Regions from separate parts of the Homo sapiens genome. Here region 2 is linked to region 1. The links are contacts of gene promoters, found by promoter capture Hi-C in blood cells and fetal thymus (Javierre and others, 2016). All regions are on one chromosome and are shown on one strand. Each heading gives the region's core, a stretch centred on a gene start or on the middle of the fragment in contact. The rest is flanking DNA. Distances are from core to core; before and after follow the strand shown. Region 1 holds the start of ZNF207 (zinc finger protein 207). Region 2 overlaps RHOT1 (ras homolog family member T1).

Evidence for each region. Contacts are between HindIII fragments. The CHiCAGO score rates a contact against its expected background, and 5 or more counts as called.
Region 2: a contact is called between a fragment that was not itself captured here and the fragment with the promoter of ZNF207 in region 1, in 4 of 17 cell types (erythroblasts, M0 macrophages, monocytes and 1 more). The highest score is 6.9, in erythroblasts.

Annotation. Positions count from the first base shown.
Region 1 is chr17:32,348,229-32,351,986 of GRCh38, forward strand. It overlaps ZNF207 (zinc finger protein 207), which reads left to right and starts at 1,929. Exons shown (of 12, transcript NM_001098507.2): 1 at 1,929-2,098; 2 at 3,558-3,684. The coding sequence starts at 2,058. MIR632 (microRNA 632) reads left to right here and starts at 1,881; the gene lies at 1,881-1,974. It also overlaps a transcript of C17orf75 not described here. RefSeq lists enhancers at 1,379-1,498, 1,669-2,018. The HindIII fragment of the contact is 13,651 bases long and covers 1-3,758 here.
Region 2 is chr17:32,222,743-32,226,500 of GRCh38, forward strand. It overlaps RHOT1 (ras homolog family member T1), which reads left to right. Exons shown (of 20, transcript NM_001033566.3): 20 at 1,874-2,985. The coding sequence ends at 1,991. Among named protein-coding and RNA genes, the nearest start is that of RHBDL3, 41 kb to the right of the region's middle. The HindIII fragment of the contact is 6,005 bases long and covers 1-3,758 here.

The DNA.
Region 1 (3,758 bases), core at 679-3,178:
GCCAGGCTGGTCTTCAACTCCTGATCTCAGGTGATCCACCCGCCTCAGCCTCCCACAGTGCTGGGATTACAGGTGTGAGCCACTGCGCACAGCCCAAACTGATCCTTTAAAATTCAAATTTAATTCAGCTCCACACATACTTTGTGTTTTGGGGCAAATTATTCCAGCTCTCTTAAGTCTCTTTTATCTCATCTCTATTAACAAGTTGACAATAATGGCTCCTACCCCAGAGGCTGAGACAAATAATGTTAAAACTCACTACAATGCTTGGCACACGGTAGGTGCTCCATGGATGTCTGCTATTATTTTTTGCTTTTAATAGTAACATAATTTACATTACTAGTTATTATTATATGCTAAGCTCTGTTTTAAGTGCAGCCAAGATGAAGTTTAACTGCCTTGCCCAAAGTCAGGCAGCTAAGCAGTGGCACTGGTGGACTATGAACCCAAGCACTGGACTTTTAACCACCTCTCACTTGCATGATCCTCCAGTTGCCCTCTTAGAACCACTGTGCCTTCTCAGAGACTTCAGCTGAAATCCAACTTCTGAGAATGCTTCTAGGGTTCGCCAGAACCCGCCTTTGCTAGCCTCCCTAGGATTATCTCTTGTGACCAGCACCTTCACTGACAGCTCCAGTCTTTTTTTTTTTTTTTTGAGACGGAGTCTCACTCTGTCACCCAGGCTGGAATGCAATGGCGAGATCTCGGCTCACTGCAACCTTCACCTCCCAGGTCCAAGTGATTCTCCTGCCTCATTCTCCCGAGTAGCTGAGGTTACAGGCGCCTGCCACTACGCCTGGCTAATTTTTGTATTTTTAGTAGAGACAGGGTTTCACCATGTCGGCCAGGCTGGTCTCGAACTCCTGACCTCAAGTGATCCGCCTGCCTCGGCCTTGGCCCATAGTGTTGGGATTACTGGCGTGAGCAACCGCGCCCGGCTATCAGCTCCAGTCTTACCACGATTAGTTTTTCACGTGCCCAGCCTCAAAGACTTAAACTCTTTGCTCCCTTACGGAGATACCCTTTCCTTCACCTTGCTTGCTCCCGTTGACTCCTCAAGAAACCTTTCTTATGTCGGGCGCAGCGGCTCAAGCCTGCAATCCAGCACTTTGGGAGGCCGAGGCGGGCGGATCACTTGAGCCCAGGAGTTCGAGACCAGCCTCGCTAACATGGTGAAACCCCATTCTACTAAAAATACAAAAATTAGCCGGGCTTGGTGGCGCGGGCCTGCAGTCCCAGCTACTCGGGAGGCTGAGGTAGGAGAATCGCTTGAACCCGGGAGACGGAGGTTGCAGTGAGCAGAGATCGCGCCGCTGCACTCCAGCCTGGGAGACAGAGCGAGACTTGGTCTCAGAAAAATAAAACAAAACAAAGAAAAACAAAACTTTACTTGACAACCCAACGACCACTACCACTACAGCCGCCCTAGGACTCCCGCTCTCTGAGGTCCTACAGCACTTCGCATTTCCCTCAACGCCGCACTGAGAACTCTGCATTGTGTACTCGTCTGTCACCAATCTGCGAGTTACAAAGCAGAGACTAACTTATTTGGTTTAGCATTTAATAGGCACATAATCAACATTTACTGTTCAATTGAAACAAAATTAAAATTGGGCGCTGTCTCTATCTTTATTTGTGATCGGCCCTAACTGCACTGGCAATCTTTTCCGTTTTTTTGTTTTCTGTTTTCCATTCGCATGCCCCTTAGCGTACCTGGGGCTCCGGCTCCTTTACAAATGAAACCCAAAGTGCTCCGCAAGCACAGCCAGCGAAAGCGAAAAACTCTGAAACGGACAAGATGGCTGCCACCTCTTCGCGCCTCTTAGTCCCACCCACTCAGGGCGGAGGTCTGCGTCATGTGACCCTCCCCTTCTTGGCTCCGCCTCCTACCGCAGTGCTTGACGGGAGGCGGAGCGGGGAACGAGGCCGTCGGCCATTTTGTGTCTGCTTCCTGTGGGACGTGGTGGTAGCCGTTGGGTTGGGAAAGTGAGGGATTTTTGGCCTCGTTTCTCCTGCTTCTTTTCTCCTCCCTTTTACTTTGCCGGTAGAACACAGTTATGGGTCGCAAGAAGAAGAAGCAGCTGAAGCCGTGGTGCTGGTATCCTTTGTCGGTTTGAAGTCGAGGTCGCGTTGGGGTGCCGGTTGTTGGGGCCTGGGACTAGGAGGCCTGGATTTGGCTTACGGCGTGGAGCGTTTGTATTTAGGCGTCTGCGTGGGTGGCCTGGTGGCTGGGATTGGACTTGGGAAGGCTTCTAGGAAAATGGGGTTCCGAGGTCGACAGGCTTTTGCAGTTGTGGGTCGTGTGACTCTGTGACTCAGGAGGATCTTGTTCGGTGCGAATTTTGGACTCCGGGAGGCGGCCTGGACCCCTCCGCCAGGGACAGTGTCCCCTAGGGACTATTCAGCCACCTTCCGTTGTTTTGGTGACGATTCAACAAGGGACTTTTCTTCGAGTGCGATAGGCTTATTACTTTCATGGAGGGTTGGGGACAGCTTCACAGTCTGTCACCCACTTTTTCTGTTTTTATTTACTTTATGTGTGTTTTGTGTTTATTTTTTCGAATTGGCGGTTTAGTAAAGAACCAAGTTAGTCAACCCTGGTTTCGAACCTTTTTTTTTTTTTTTTTCTTTTCGGGGCGGGAGGAGAACTAGCTTCCGTGTCTCACCCAGAGGCGCCTTAATCTTCAGGAAGCGTTCTCACAGGGCGGAGTTTCTGTTACCCAACTTTGTAGGACTAAAAAGTGCCTATCTTATTAGGAAAACTCTTACTACAGTGTGGTATTAATGCTTTTTCTGGAAGCGTTAATATTCTTTACATTAAAATTGATTTTATTTACTGTTTTGTACGTAAAGGCGGCTTGTTACAGTACTGCGTTTATGTAACAGTTTTAAAAATAGCTTAAATACGGTTACGAATTTTGTAATGTGATTTTAGGAAAATCTGAGTAGTGAGGTAAGAATTCTGTTTTATTGATGTAAGAATTCTGCTTTATTGATTTTATTGATCTGTGAATTTAAATACATTGCTTGGCAACATAAATTCATACGGAATTGGAAACAACTTTATGGATTGTTCATTCGAAATTATGTGATTATTGTTCACCATATAGTTACTCTTAGATTCTAAATATTGCTAAATTCCTAATCCAGTTATTGCTATCGTCTTCATATCTAGTGAAGTAATTGTCTTGACAGAACCTTAGGGATTTCTTAACTGAACTCTTTCCTGTCCTCAGTGTGCATTTGTAAATGTTGAAATATTTATAACAAAAGTTTCACCGACATCTCTGTTAAACACAGGAATTTGACAAAGTATATTGCTGATTATTGAGATGTGTTTTTTGGGGTGGTGAAGAGAGCTGGCCTTCTAGGAAATTGAAAATACTGAAATAACATGGCAAGTGTAGTCCCTAATTGTGTAATAAATATAAAAAGCAGAGTTTCTATACAGTACCATTTTGGTTTTAGCTGTTCCCATATTGTAATGTTATCCATATGTTTTTATTATAGGCAGTGTCATCATTAGGCTGTCTTTGTGCCTTAACAGTATTGATCAGGTATTGTAATAGAGATTTTGATGATGAGAAGATCCTTATTCAGCACCAAAAAGCAAAGCATTTTAAATGCCATATATGTCACAAGAAATTGTATACAGGACCTGGCTTAGCTATTCATTGCATGCAGGTAAGGATTTTTCTTCTGTATTTATTGTCCGCTTGTGATTTGGAAACAACTTGAAAGAATAATCTTTTTTATTT
Region 2 (3,758 bases), core at 419-2,918, 130 kb before region 1:
TGCATGTGTATAAAAGGTTAAGAGCCCGGATAGCTGAGTGGGGTGCCATGCTGTTAGCAGACGATGAGGGCAGTATTACTCACCAGGTGCATGCTGTCAGCTCTGTAGAAGATTCCATCTTCATGGAGTCATCTCATGGTCCACTTTTTCTTGAAGCCAGGTAACATTTCCAATGGGTTGGCCTCGTTGGAGTTTTTCCAGCTTGAAAAACCTAAGCATTTTCTTCTCTGACTTTTTTTTTAATAAAATGCTGCCTGTTGGAAAAACTAACTTGCAAGCTGGAATGAACCTGTGATATCACTTTGCTTTGTAAGAAATAATTATGTGAGGAGTGATTTTTTTTTTTTAAATAGAAACTGGTGAGGGTGAGAATTGGAGTGTTGTGTCTTGCTTTGTTGTGTTAAGCATGGAGCACTCTGGCTTGTGTTGTAGACTTTTGTTTCTAGGGATGTACAGACTATTTTGTGATAACTAATCTGTTCTCTTTGACTATTACTGAGGCAAAGTAGTTTTGTGCAGTTTGAATTCTTGGCTCTTAACTCTTTTGCATATGTCAGTGCCTTGGTCTTTTAATGATATCTGACTTTTGCTTCAAATCTGTTTAACTTAGTTATAAAATAACCTAAACTAGACAGTCTCTCTAAGCTCTTAATTTTGTAAGTTTTCTTTTCTTTCTTTTTTTTTTTTTTTGCGATAGAGTCTCACTCTGTCACCCAGGCTGGAGTGCAGTGGCACCGTGTCGGCTCACTGCAAACTCCGTCTTCTAGGTTCAAGCAATTCTCCTGCCTCAGCCTCCCAAGTAGCTGGGATTACAGGCACCCACCACCATGCCCGGCCACTTTTTATATTTTTAGTAGAGACGGGGTTTCACCATGTTGGCCAGGCCAGTCTCGAACTCCTGACCTCAGGTGATCCACCCGCCTCAGCCTCCGAAGTGCTGGGATTACAGGCATGAGCCACTGCACCCGGCCAATTTTTTAAGTTTTCTACATCATCTCAATTGTGTTCACTTAGTAACTAAGACTTCAGTGACATTTAAATAAAATGTTCTGACCTTTTCTTTAGAGCTTTATCCTCTTCATGGTAAGCTGTCATACTTGAGACTCTTGAGGGTACTTACTGAGCATGCTCACAACTCAGTTTGTGGTACAGGCTGTCCCTGTTCTTGTCATGCATACTATGGCTTATTTTATGTCATTGCCTTTCAATCCATCACATTACGTTATGTCTGTTAGTTGGTATCATTATCACTGCCTGTCTAACACCAGGGATTGGTTTTTTTCTCTTTAATTAGCAGTAACCAAATTAATGCAAACTGATAAATCTTCCCCTCCCCCTTCGGGTTTTTTGGGGGGTTTTTTGTAAATTTTTATGAGGCTCAGTGTTTCCAAAGTTGACTTTAATCATTTCTCTTAGAAAAGTATTGTCACTTGTCACTTAACTGCTTACAAAATAGCTTTCAGTTCCTGGGGATAGGAGATTGCACATTATTTAACCATGAATATGATCCTCAAAATTGTGGGAACACCGCCTTAATTTTCATTTTGAACAACCGTAACGGTATTATAAAATGCTAGATTGATTTGTCTAACTTCTTTATTTCCTGTGTGAAAAAAAGTTTACAAATTTAGATGTCTACTCCCACAAAGTAGCTAATTGTCTTTATTAGTATCTACATTGTGTCATTTTCTTAAAGTAATGATTAAGTAATTATATATATGGCTATATTGATCAATGTTTTTGATAAGCATTACTGTATGCAGTTAGCTTGACAAGTGTGCTAATACTTCCCTAAAAGTAGACTGCTAAATAACTGGTATAGGGTTTTCATACTAATCATGTTTTAAATAATAATTATATTTTCTGACTGCAGGCACGTGACACAAGCTGACCTCAAGAGCTCCACGTTTTGGCTTCGAGCAAGTTTTGGTGCTACTGTTTTTGCAGTTTTGGGCTTTGCTATGTACAAAGCATTATTGAAACAGCGATGATATAAAAAGAAATACTGTCCCTACCAAAAACAAATACTTTTATGTACATTCTGAATGCTTTAAGTTCTGCTAGAATTATTGAGATATTTATACATGCAGAGTTACTTTATTAATATTTGTAATTCATGCATAAGAGTATTTTAATGATAGTTATAACTGCAGTATTGGCTAGCATATGGAAAGAAAACAGCTAACAGCCAAACTAAAATGGCTAAATTCCAGAGGCCAAAAGGGAATATTTTGTAAATATATGTACATATTCAGGCAAGATATGGTCTCCCAAGCTGAGTTCTAGAAATGATGTTTCTAGACATTTCTAAGTGGTATTGTTAGTGCTCACTTGGCTCACTCTTCTAGGTTTAAGTTAGCCCAGAGATTGTATTTACTCATGGATCACTTTATTTATTTCACATTTACTCAGAATGATCCTTTGGGTTCTATAAGGACATAAGGTACAATTTGCCATTGTCTCTCCATTTTTAAAAACATACAAGTCAGTGTCAGCTTACCAACATGACATTTTTTCAGTCAGTTGTGGTAGGCCAGCCTTGAAGCCATCGCACAGTCTAGAAACTTGTGTAGCTGAGTGTGCAGCTCACCTTTAAGGGTGAAGTTAGGTAAAAGCAATTAGCAGAGGCGTTATCTATGTGATTATGTTGCTTCCTTGTCAGTATGTTGAATTTTATAGCCCTTTCAATGAAATAAAAAAAAAATTTGTATATTACCAATGTTTTTAGTTTAAATAAAGAGTCACCCTTACTACTGTTGAATTTCATCCCAAGTGTAAATCATTCTATAATGGCTGTGTCTGTTATAGTATATTACAGTAACTGCATGTGTCACCAAGTGTTCTATATCAGGCTAGGATAACCTAGAGGCAGTAATTTTTTAAATGATAAAATAAATCTAATGAATATAAACTCTCATGATAAACCTATTTTTTCCATCATCAGCCTTTTCAAGTATTTAAATAAATAACTGCTGTGTACTGTGATCTTGAGTTCTTTTGTCATCTAAAGTAAATATTTCTGTACAGATGTGAGTGAAGTCCTCTGGTTTCTATCTCTCATATTGAAAATTATTCTGTATAAAAGGAATACTCAGCCGGGAGTGGTGGCTCAATCGTGTAATCCCAGCACTTTGGGAGGCCGAGGTGGGTGGATCACCTGAGGTCAGGAGTTTGAGACCAGCCTGACCAACATGGTGAAACCCTGTCTCTACTAAATAAAAAAAATTAGCTGGGCATGGTGGCGCATGCCTGTAATCCCAGCTACTTGGGAGGCTGAGGCAGGAGAATCGTTTGAACCTGGGAGGAGGTGGAGATTGCAGTGAGCCAAGATCACGCCATTGCACTCCAGCCTGGGCAACAAGAGTGAAAGTATACCTCAAAAAAAAAAAAAAAAAAAACTTATTAGGAAAAAAGTCAAGTATGATTTATATATGTAAGAGGAAATTTATTTAAAAGTTGTAGAGAAATCTATTCTGGTAAAAGGCCAATTGTTTTCCCTACACATAGCTAATTAATGTGGTTTCTGCTATTGTTTGCATGTTTATTTTCTCCTTTAACATGATTTTTCCTCTTTGCCATTCTGAGGGACATTTTCTTACAAGATCACACTTCTTGAGCAACTAGTAACAGTATAGCTTACTAGCTGGCAAAATAACATGACACTTCATTTGTTATTTGTTATTTTTTGATAAGGTCTTACTCTGTTGCTCAGGCTAGAGTGCAGTGGCGCGATCATAGCTCACTGCATCCTTGAATTC